Regions from separate parts of the Homo sapiens genome. Here regions 2, 3 and 4 are each linked to region 1. Evidence: promoter capture Hi-C in human tissues and cell types (Jung and others, 2019). All regions are on one chromosome and are shown on one strand. The core of a region is centred on a gene start or on the middle of the fragment in contact, and the rest is flanking DNA. Distances in the headings are between cores, read along the strand shown.

Region 1 (2,700 bases), core at 182-2,681:
CAGCATTTCATTATTTCTTAACTGTCCCTCTCATGCTTGTCTCCTTTTCCTAGTGATCCACGTGTCCTCATTTAGCAGTTTTCAGAAGCCAGGGAGAAACATTGCAAATAATGTTAAATATGATTAATATCTTGAATTCCTTGAAATATGACATGCATGAGTTACAATGAAACCTCTTTTATTTCCCCATGAAATGCTTTTGCATAATGAGAAAGAAAATGTCCTCTATGCCCTAATCAGCCCTGACAGTTCCTGGACTCCCAAATACTTATATTTATGGCATTATTTATTTCATCTCTAATAAATGGATTGGGGGGGGGACACAGCACCATCTGAGGAAGCTGCAGGAGAGAGGGAGACAATCTAGGGGGGAATAATACAGAAGCTGAACCAGCAAGGCAGAGAGAAAAAGCTTCCAAAGGGAAGGAGACCAGGGAAAGAGAGGCCAAAAGATGTGAACCCCCAGAAGAAAATGGGTCACCTTCCTAAGAATAAAAGGAAGGCTCTGAAAAGGAAACAAACTTCAGAGTGCAGAGATGAGGGTCCTACATCAAGGAGCATCCAGAACTCTGACCTGGAGAACGAAAAAGGAAGGCTGAAAAGCAAACCTGGGGCAGGGTATGCTGGTTGGCCTAGAAGAGGGGTGATTTGGGATAGGGAGCAATGGACCCTCTGCCCCAAAAAGTGGCTGGGAGAGACCAGGACATCTGCATCCCATGGAGGATCTTCCTCCCAACGACTGAGATCTCTCATTCAAACGGCTACTGAAATTGGGCACCCTCCAGACCCTCGCCGGATGGCGCCAGTTGCAGTGAGTAAAACAATGCAAGGAGTGAGTTCTCGTGTTTCCCTGGGCTTGCAAGTACATATACATATATTAAAAATGACACTGTTGAAAGTAATCATCACCTCAAAGGGAGGTATCAGGACATTTCCCCACTCAATTGCACAGAGGCTACTGGCTATGGGAAGTGAGGAGTTGACTTCAAATAACCTGGATGCGTCAGTGCAACACAGCCGCACACTCCCGAGTGTCTGACTTTGGGCAATTCCCTTCAACCTCTCAGAGCCTCGGTTTTCTCATCTTTATAATGGGGGGGAAATCATGGTGTCATGCACGTTCTCGGGGCCCCTACGGGAAACAAATGAAAACGTGAAAAAGTTCTACGCCTTGCGAGCTTTTATGTTCCGCATGAGCTCAGAGGCCGCGATGCTCGGGGAAAGCAGGACCCCAAAGCCCCGTAAACACCGCGCGACCACCCGGGCCAAGATCTTCAAGAGGTTCTTTTCAGAAGGATCGGAGAGCAATTCCCGATTGGTAGAAGAACTTGCTGTAATACACACGTACTCTGACGACCCCGCCCCAACGACTAGCCCCTCCTCTGTGCAACCCCGAGAGTTTGGGGTCATGCAGGGGGCGCCACGAGCTCGTTTCGGAAGCCGGACCCCGCCCGCAGCCGCAGAAGCCTCGAGTCCACATCTGGGTCTCTAAAGTCTCGCCGTAGCCAGATCCCGGATCCCCACCTTCTTCACCAGTTCCCGGGCGTCCTCCAGGTCCTCGCTTTCCCCCTTCCCCCGCTCCCCGTCGGAGGCGCGGAGCCGCCAGGCAGACCCCGCGGGCGGCTGCGGCGCCAGGCCCCGCCCCGCCCCCATTATCATTAGCAGATATTACCCTAAACACTTGCTCTTTACCTCCTTTCTCCCTCCAGGCATTGGCGAGGCAGCCTGTCAATCAGGAGCTCGGGCGGCAGCCCCCCGCGCGGGGGCTCGGCGATGCCAGCCTCAGCGACAGGCGGCGGCGGCGGCGGCCACGGCACAGACACACACCCTCCCACACGCGCGCACCAGGGCAGACCCGGCGGGCAGGCGGCGGAGGCACCCTCGGAGCCCGGCGCCCGGCGGGGAGGGGACGTGCTCCGAGGGACCGGCCCCGAGGCGCCGGATGGAGGAAGAGATGCAGCCGGCAGAGGAGGGGCCCAGCGTCCCCAAAATCTACAAGCAGCGCAGCCCCTACAGCGTCCTCAAGACGTTCCCCAGCAAGAGACCGGCGCTGGCCAAGCGCTACGAGCGACCCACCCTGGTGGAGCTGCCGCACGTGCGGGCGCCCCCGCCGCCCCCGCCGCCCTTCGCGCCGCACGCCGCCGTCTCCATCAGCAGCAGCGAGCCGCCGCCGCAGCAGTTCCAGGCGCAGAGCTCCTACCCCCCCGGGCCCGGCCGGGCCGCCGCCGCCGCTTCGTCGTCGTCGCCGTCCTGCACGCCCGCCACATCCCAGGGCCACTTGAGGACTCCGGCGCAGCCGCCGCCCGCGTCCCCCGCCGCCTCCTCGTCGTCTTCGTTCGCCGCTGTCGTCAGGTATGGCCCAGGCGCGGCGGCGGCCGCCGGCACCGGCGGCACGGGTAGCGACAGCGCCAGCCTGGAGCTCAGCGCAGGTACCAACTCTCCGCACAACTTTCCTTCCCGCCACGGCCGGGGGCAGCGGGAGGGGACCCAGGAAGGAGAAGCGGGGGGCCGCCGACACTTACCCGTGCTGGGCCGTGTCGGGATGTCGGGGCGCACCTGGGGCCTCCCCGCGCACCCGGAAACTTCGAGAGGATTCTCCAGCGCCGCCGCGCCTGGGCTTCCGACGGCGCGCGCCTAACAGGTGGCTCCGCGGCTTGGATCCCGCGCCGGGAAGCACGGCTGTGGCAGTCGGCGACCAGG
Region 2 (2,788 bases), core at 161-2,660, 340 kb before region 1:
AGGTAATGAGAGAGACTGGATGTCTGCCTACCCAGTTCCTCCCCGCGTGCTTTGCTTCTGCATTCACTGCTGCCACTGGAGAATATTTAATACCAAAGTCAAAATAAGTGTTTAGGAGGCTTTCAGTGGTGGTTTAAAATAATTACCATGGGGGCTTTGGTAAAAGCCTTTATCCAGAAAACTCTTTAAATTATATAATTATATCCCTTATCCCACTCTTCCTTCCTTTCCCTGGATTTGTCTGTCTTTGCTACATGTCCCCACCCCCGTGCTGAAACACAGACTGGACACAGATTCAGCACTTTGCTGCCTCTCTCTGCATTGTACCCTAAGTGAGACTAGATGCCTCGCAAGCACTTATTTGCCTGATGGAACCTATCATAATCCCAAATCTCAAACCTCTGTTGAGGGGCCAAGAGCAATTTACCCAGCACTACAACTTCCTCTTCCTACCTGCCTCCATTTTGTGACCCTTGACCTTTGTCAGATGGCATGACCCTTCTGGGAGATTGGACCACTTCCTCAATTACAGTATTCCATATCTACCCCCGTCCTGGGAAACCTATATTTGTGTATTAGCAAAGCATGGAATTTTTTTTCTCTTTTCCTCTCCCCATTATCTTTAGCAATATATATTGATTAAATGCGTTCGTTGGGCCGCCTTCCTCTAAGCTGTTTGGAGGACCTCTTTGACCATGTGTTTTTAATGACTTCACCTTCTGTCTGCCTTACCCGTTTTGGAAAAATTACTTTATATTGGTTTGATTCTATACACATATGTTTTTCAACATTATGTTCTAGTACAGGCTACGAGTTTGGAAACACCAAAGCTTTTTGATCAAAAACTACATCAAAAAAAAAAAACCAATAAATACAATTTTTTAAAATAAGTTTTGATTTTATAATGTGTCAGGGGGTTGCAGGGGAACCACGTCAAAGAGAGCTAGTGATCCTGACTGGGATGAATACTAAATGGGCCAGTTGTACATAAATGTAGTTTCTCCCTACTCTCAGGCATACGTTCTTTTACTACCACCTGCAGTAGCTGGAGGAGTATTGATATATGTGTTGCGTAGGAGTATATGGAATGCCCAGTGTTCCACTGAATCAATAACACATTGTAGAAAAGCAAGTAATACCCAATGGTTTATCCATATGTTATTATGGGAGCCATAACTCACTCTTTAAGAACGTGCTAACATTGTCCATACTTGATATGGTCATAATGTATTATTAAGAATGTTTCTAGAATGTTCCGTTAATTCATAATTTTAAAGTGTGAACATTTGGAGAGTGTAAGAGTAGAGACAGAATGAAACATGATTTGACCATAAATTTGTAAATACCTCACGTCTTAAATGATGATGAGGTGGAGCCTCAAACCACCAAAACAGCTAATAAAATATGTGTTAGTTTAAGATTCTTATATATATCCTCTTATTTGACATTTTAAATTAATTTATAGTAGATTTTAAAAGGTAGAGCCTTAGCAAACTAAAGTAAGGTGCTGGTGGTGTTTTTGTTTTTTACTCCCAGTAAACATTTATTTCTCTGCTTTAAAAACAAAACCTAAGAATGAACTCAGTGGTGTTGTGTCTGAAGAACATGTCAGCAAAACAAACCCTGGGTGTCGTCTTTATAATTAATTATTTTAAACCAAATACATACATTGATGTGGTCACCTATGCAGAACTATACAGATAATAAAAGAGAAATGCCACATCAGTTTATAACTTTCCAATTATTTTCAGTTAAGAATTCTATCAGGTTGGAGACAGAAATTAAGAGAGAAAATCAGTGGTTAGTTATATAAATATTTGTCCTCCTACCATGTACCAAGAGCTATATGTCACATGAGACTAGATAATGCCATCTTTCCTAGATTGAGAAGACAGGTTTCCAGAAGTAGCTGATAGTATTGAATGTTGGCAGTCAAAAGGTAAATTGAAATAAAATTGCCATTGGGAGATTTCATAAGAAAACTTAAAATTATCCCAGTCACATGAGATGGAGTCTCACTCTGTCGCCCAGTCTGGAGTGCAGTGGCGTGATCTCGGCTCACTGCAACCTTCACCTCCCAGGTTCAAGCGATTCTCGTGCCTTAGCTTCCCAAGTAGCTGGGATTACAGGCACCTGTCATGTCATATCCAGTTAATTTTTGTATTTTTAGTACAGACAGAGTTTCACCATATTGGCCAGGCTGGTGTCGAACTCCTGACCTCAGGTGATCCACCCGCCTCGGCCTCCCAAAGTGCTGGGATTACAGACATGAGCCACCAAGCCTGACCTCTTTTTTTTTTTTTTTTTTTTTTTTTTGTGGCATGATCTTGGCTCACTGCAACCTCTGCCTCCTGGGTTCAAGAAATTCTCCTGCCTCAGCCTCCTGAGTAGCTGGGATTACAGACATGTGCCACCACACCCGGCTAATTTTTTTGTTTTAGTAGAGAAGGGGTTTCACCATGTTGGCCAGGCTGGTCTCAAACTCCTGACCTCAAGTGATCTGCCTTCCTCGGCCTCCCAAAGTATTGGGATTACAGGTGGGAGCCACCGGACCTGGCGCGTTTCGTGTTAGTACCTTTGTTAGACCTGATACCAGAGGAAGGGCAGAACTAACCTTTCCTGGATGTCACTTCATGCCAGGCACTGGACAGGGCACTTTATTCACAAATAAAGGAGTTAGCACATCTTATCACTATAATCTCTCTACAAAATAGATAGTAACCCAATCTTATGAATGAGAAAAATGTGATTCAGAGAAGTTAAGTCACCTGCCTGAGGAAAGACAGCC
Region 3 (2,700 bases), core at 125-2,624, 360 kb before region 1:
TGGAGTATATTTGTGAATGAATGCAGGCATGCATGTGTGCTTGTAAAGGAGCTAATCCTGAAATGTGACCCTGAGGCCTGCAGGTAGGAATAGGGAAATAGGTACACCTGACGGGTGACTCAGGCCTGAGGCTGAAACCCTCTCATAGAAATGAAGTATTATTGAAGACCAAGAACAGACACAAAAGTTTAAAAACCTGATGATTTGAACAAAATTCTAATTTTCATCTAATCTCAGTTTTACATCCCATTTGCTTCCTTGGGTATGTATTAGTTCTTGGTGTTTTGTCCTTACGGTCATAGCTTAGCTGCACCTCTAGTTGACCTTAGACAATTTACTCAACCTCCCCAAAGCTATTAACTGAATTACTAAATGTAAAGCACTTAGCAGTGCCTGGTACAATTTTTCTATCCGTGAAATGCTGGTTTCCTCTTCAACATCTTCCTAGTCATAATCTTATTTCATATGGAAATAAATCCTACTAGTATTTATCCACATTTACTCCAGTGGTACAATTTGGTTTAATAATATTACTTTGTCTTTAAGGAAATTTCTGCCAAATAGCCCATGTTGTAATCTGAAGCCTAGGTTGATACGAGTTTGATTATTATATCTTTCTCATTTAGAAGCATATCACAAACTTTAAAAAAAAATGACATCATCTAAGCACTGACATAATGTTTGCTAATATGGAAATAGGTCACTTTGAGGTTCCATTATTTAGCAAAATATACATGTATTGGGGAAAAATCATAATTTCTAAAGCTATCATAATACATTTTACCAAACTACATGAAGCTTTCTGTCCTCACTTACAGTAGAAATGTTACATTTATGTGCCTTTTTAAAAATTCTGCATACATTAGGAACATCTGAAAGAGAAAACATTACTGGAGGCTTTACTAGGTGAATAAACATTATTTTATGATTTTTTCAGTGATAACTAAATCTATATTATGTCAAAGAGTCATCAACCTCAAGCCTTTATAACATTTAGCTTGGTGACATTTAGAAAGTAAAATTAGTGTTTGGAGTTTTTTTTTGAATTCCATAAATGCCATGGGAATTTTATCGCATTTCAACACTTGCTGAATATGTAATTCCCCTAGTGCCCATTAGTGGCCATCTGTGTAAGGTAATACATATTTGGGATGAAATTGATTATAGCCTAAACACTCTTGTGTTATGATCAGGAAAAGCACGCAAAGTTCAAATCTTTTTTTCTAGTGATCATTATATAGCTAACAATATTAATTTCCAAAAGCAGAACAGCCCATCACTCAAGATTCTGATCTCACCATAAATGATACCAGGGCAAAAGGAAAGGAGTCTGCAGAACCTTCTGCTAAAATTAACCAGTGCTGTTCTCAAGGAGCTCCTGGGATAAAGGGAAAATTAACACGCTTATGGAGTACAGTGTTTCCTTCATAGGCATCAAAGTAGACCCATTACAATTTTGCTGAATATTCCGAAATGTTTTATTATTCTTCTTAAGGATTTGTGTTAAAGCCACCACAACACTCCATGTTAACCTACTTGTGTGACTTTTCTCAGCATACCTTGCTGGCCCTACATCTTTGATCCTTTATGTTATTTGTGCCTGCTTTGAAAATGTTTCTCTTTTACCTGTGCAAAACTAGATGCTTTCCTTCTTTCAAATATGATTTCAATGTGATCTCTCCAGTGAAGTCATTTTATTTTTATAGGTATGTGAGTGGTAATGTATTTTATATTGGTGGACTTTCTGAGCTCATTTTTCCCCTTAGAGTAGAGACAGAAAATATACAAAATATTTGTTTATATGTTTCTAATGAATGTGTTCGTATCTTGGCTCCCACATTATCTAGTTACCCCAGTGTTTTGGGAAACATATTGCAAAAAAATATTTTTGCAGGAAATTTTGAGGGCTTGTATTAATAAGCTGTCCCCATGATCACTAAAAAAAAAAACCTTATGCCTTGGGTAAAATGCTTAAAATTTGAACACAGCTATATCCTGATCTTCACTGGGATGTGAGCCAGAATGATTTAACTGCAAATGCCCTAAAAGTAGCTGAAGATTTGGAAGAATCATTGTGTAAACATTTAAATTCAACAGTTGTGGTGCTGGCATCACTGATGCTGAATTGTTCTTCCTTTCCTTGCTTGAACTTCTTGATGATAATTGTTCATCAGGTTATGGTAGATTTCAAATCTGCTTCCCATTAAAGGAAATAAAATAATGCTATCTTCTTGAAAGAAATTTACCTTCCTGTATTATATATTATACACTAAGAAGTCATGCATCAAGTGTGTCTAATAACCATCCATATTATTTGGAATATATTGAAAAGAAAATGGTCTAGATTGCAGCAGTATTTTTGTAATTTCTGGATTTTGGTCTTGTCATTAGCTCACTTAGCAAACATACTAAATGCTGACATTCAATGCTGTGGAGTCATTAAGATGAGCAAGACGTGGTCCCTAATTTTGAGCAAACCTACCATACTCATGCATTTACACTTCTCTTAATGTACATGAAGATGAGCAAAATTCTGTAGGAGAACAGCAGAGGGGAAATTTTATTTTAAGAAATAAAGGAAAGCTTAAAAGAAACAATAACTTTTTTTTTTTTTTTTTTTTTTTTGAGACTGTCTCGCTCTGTTGCCCAGGCTGGAGTGCAGTGGCTTGATCTCGGCTTACCGCAAGCTCCGCTTCCTGG
Region 4 (2,700 bases), core at 35-2,534, 390 kb before region 1:
GGGCCTGAAACAAAAGAGAAATCTATGGCTGAAATAGCAATTTGGCAGTCAGTGGTTGGTAAGTGGTATTTGAAGTCATAAAACTGAATGGGATCTCCTGAAGAGAAGATATAAAATGAGGGGGAAATGGAAGGCTGAAGATTAAGCCATGAGGGTAAGGGTTGATTAGAAAAAGAGGAATCAGCAAAAGAGACAACCTTGTTGTTAAAGATGTAGAGGACAGAGAGAGGGTCATAGCACAGAGCCAGGAGAAGAGGATTCAAAGAGAGAGTGGTCATCTGTGTCGGAGACTGCTGCAAGGTTAGGTAAGAAGTTTGAGAAGTATTTGTTGAATGTAGCTATTCATTGTAATGGTGAGGAGAGAAGAAAAAGGAAAAGACTGGGAATGAAGGGGATAGATGAGTGATGGTTTAGAGAAGGTGAAATGTGAAAGAGTTGAAAAGGGATGTGGCTTAATGGAGGAGTGGTTGCATCGGGTGAGTTTTTTTGTTTTTTTTTTTTTTATTATACTTTAAGTTTTAGGGTACAGGTGCACAACGTGCAGGTTTGTTACATATGTATACATGAGCCATGTTGGTGTGCTGCACCCATTAACTCGTCATTTAGCTTTGGGTATATCTCCTAATGCTATCCCTCCCCCCTCCCCCCACCCCACAACAGTCCCCGGTGTGTGATGTTCCTCTTCCTGTGTCCATGTGTTCTCATTGTTCAATTCCCACCTGTAAGTGAGAACATGTGATGTTTGGTTTTTTGTCCTTGCAATAGTTTGCTGAGAATGATGGTTTCCAGCTTCATCCATGTCCCTACAAAGGACATGAACTCATCATTTTTTATGGCTGCGGGGCGAGAACAGAGTATGTTAAATGCTTATCACCAGGATCCTTACAGAAGGAGAAGAGGCAGATTCTGGGGAGAACAGCATAACCTTTGGACCGAGGTTACTGAGAAAGTGAGATGAGAGGAGGTTCACAGGCATGTGTAAGGAAGGCCTCTGATAAGAGGAAAATGTTTCTTCCATCATATCAGGAAAAAAGATGGAGGAGATGGTGCACACATAGATATGCAGGTTTTAATGGCAGAAAGAAAAGGGATTTCTTCCCACCCCCAAACCGAGACAGAGTGTCTCTCTGTTACCCAGCCTGCAGTACAGTGGCTCGATCTCAGCTCACTGCAACCTCCGCCTCCCAGGTTCAAGCTATTCTCATGCCTCAGCCTCCTAAGTAGCTGGGATTGCAGGTGCACATCACCATGCCTGGCTAATCTTTGAATTTTTAGTAGAGATAGGGTTTCACCATGTTGGCCAGGCTGGTCTCGAACTCCTGACCTCAAATGATCCCCCTGCCTCAGCCTCCCAAAGTGCTGGGATTACAGGCGTAAGCCACCATACCCGGGCAAAAAGGGATTTCTTATCTGAGGTTTTTATCAAGGTGAATTTTTGTCAAGCTTCTGGGGTGAGGAGGGAACGCGGGAGACTTGGAGAATGGAGAAGGTGTGCTGTAGCCCTGCACAGTGCAAGAGAGCAAGCTTGTTGGAATGTGCTGGGTTACTGGGCAGTAAGGAGCACCCAGTTGGTGTTGTATATCATGTATTTGCTAGTCTCTATGGCCGGGTAACTTTTCTTCAGCAACATCTACCTACTTTGATGTAACACAAAAGAGAGTTCTCATTCACCCAATATTTGGAGGTTTCACCAGGAAAAGAGAAGAGCAAGGACATTGATGAGTTTGGGACCACATTATCAAAGCTGGAGTAAAAGAGGCATGAATCAGGAAGGGCTAACGTAGAATGTATAGGTGTCATTACAAAGGAGGCCCAATTAAATGTATTCCTGATGTACAGGGATAGAGACTGGGGTAGTAATACCAGGAGCATTATGGATAAAGAAAGAGGGAACTTAAATATTCCTTTTTTTTTTTTTTTTTTTTGAGACGGAGTCTCGCCCTGTCACCCAGGCTGGAGTGCAGTGGTGCAATCTCGGTTCACTGCAACCTCCACCTCCCGGGTTCGAGCGATTCTTCTGCCTCAGCCTCCTGAGTAGCTGGGATTACAGGCACGTGATACCATGCCTGGCTAATTTTTGTATTTTTAGTAGAGACAGGGTTTCACCATGTTGGTCAGGCTGATCTCGAACTCCTGACCTTGTGATCCGCCCGCCTCGGCCTCCCAAAGTGCTAGAATTACAGGCATGAGCCACCGTGCCAGGCCGGGAACTGAAATATTTCTAAATACCTCTGAAAGAAACTCCTGACTGTACACTATGATACCATAACTGACTGCTTCTGCATATTGAACTCATCTCAGTTTTTTAGCTGGTAAAACAAATAGATACAGACATTTGAGTAGTCCTCTTCTGCCCTCAGTTCTGAGGAGGATGCTTACACACTCATGGTCCAAATGAGTCCTATCCTTTGTAATGCTGTCGCAGTTTCTTCCATTCAGTGTTATTTGCTATCTCTTTTTACTAATGCATTGAAAGATGTACATTTGACAGACAGTTCTTATTAAACTATGTCATCAACAGTATTAAAATATTTGTGCTCTTTAGCTTAATTTTGCTGCATAAATTAAGTTTTTAGCATGATGCCAGTGGTTTGCTAGTCATCATTGAAAAACTAGTTGTGAATGCTTAAGTTGTTTTTTAAAGTACTAGTATTTGCCTTCATGTGTGATGGGGTGTCACTGATTGTCATTTGTATTTTT

The links. Contacts are between HindIII fragments. The study calls those that stand out against the background at their distance.
Region 2: a fragment that was not itself captured here is called in contact with the fragment with the promoter of BEND4 in region 1 in 1 of the 25 tissues and cell types used here (mesendoderm cells).
Region 3: a contact is called between a fragment that was not itself captured here and the fragment with the promoter of BEND4 in region 1, in 1 of the 25 tissues and cell types used here (H1 embryonic stem cells).
Region 4: a contact is called between a fragment that was not itself captured here and the fragment with the promoter of BEND4 in region 1, in 2 of the 25 tissues and cell types used here (IMR-90 fibroblasts and lymphoblastoid cells).

The regions. Positions count from the first base shown.
Region 1 is chr4:42,151,386-42,154,085 of GRCh38, reverse strand. BEND4 (BEN domain containing 4) reads left to right here and starts at 1,431. Exons shown (of 6, transcript NM_207406.4): 1 at 1,431-1,554; 2 at 1,710-2,429. The coding sequence starts at 1,943. RefSeq lists silencers at 1,739-2,058, 2,259-2,348 and an enhancer at 2,114-2,700. The HindIII fragment of the contact is 6,033 bases long and covers 1-2,700 here.
Region 2 is chr4:42,493,691-42,496,478 of GRCh38, reverse strand. All of the region lies in intron 24 of ATP8A1 (ATPase phospholipid transporting 8A1), which reads left to right. Among named protein-coding and RNA genes, the nearest start is that of SHISA3, 98 kb to the right of the region's middle. The HindIII fragment of the contact is 4,724 bases long and covers 1-2,788 here.
Region 3 is chr4:42,509,775-42,512,474 of GRCh38, reverse strand. All of the region lies in intron 22 of ATP8A1 (ATPase phospholipid transporting 8A1), which reads left to right. Among named protein-coding and RNA genes, the nearest start is that of SHISA3, 110 kb to the right of the region's middle. The HindIII fragment of the contact is 3,385 bases long and covers 1-2,700 here.
Region 4 is chr4:42,544,385-42,547,084 of GRCh38, reverse strand. All of the region lies in intron 19 of ATP8A1 (ATPase phospholipid transporting 8A1), which reads left to right. Among named protein-coding and RNA genes, the nearest start is that of ATP8A1, 110 kb to the left of the region's middle. The HindIII fragment of the contact is 3,737 bases long and covers 1-2,700 here.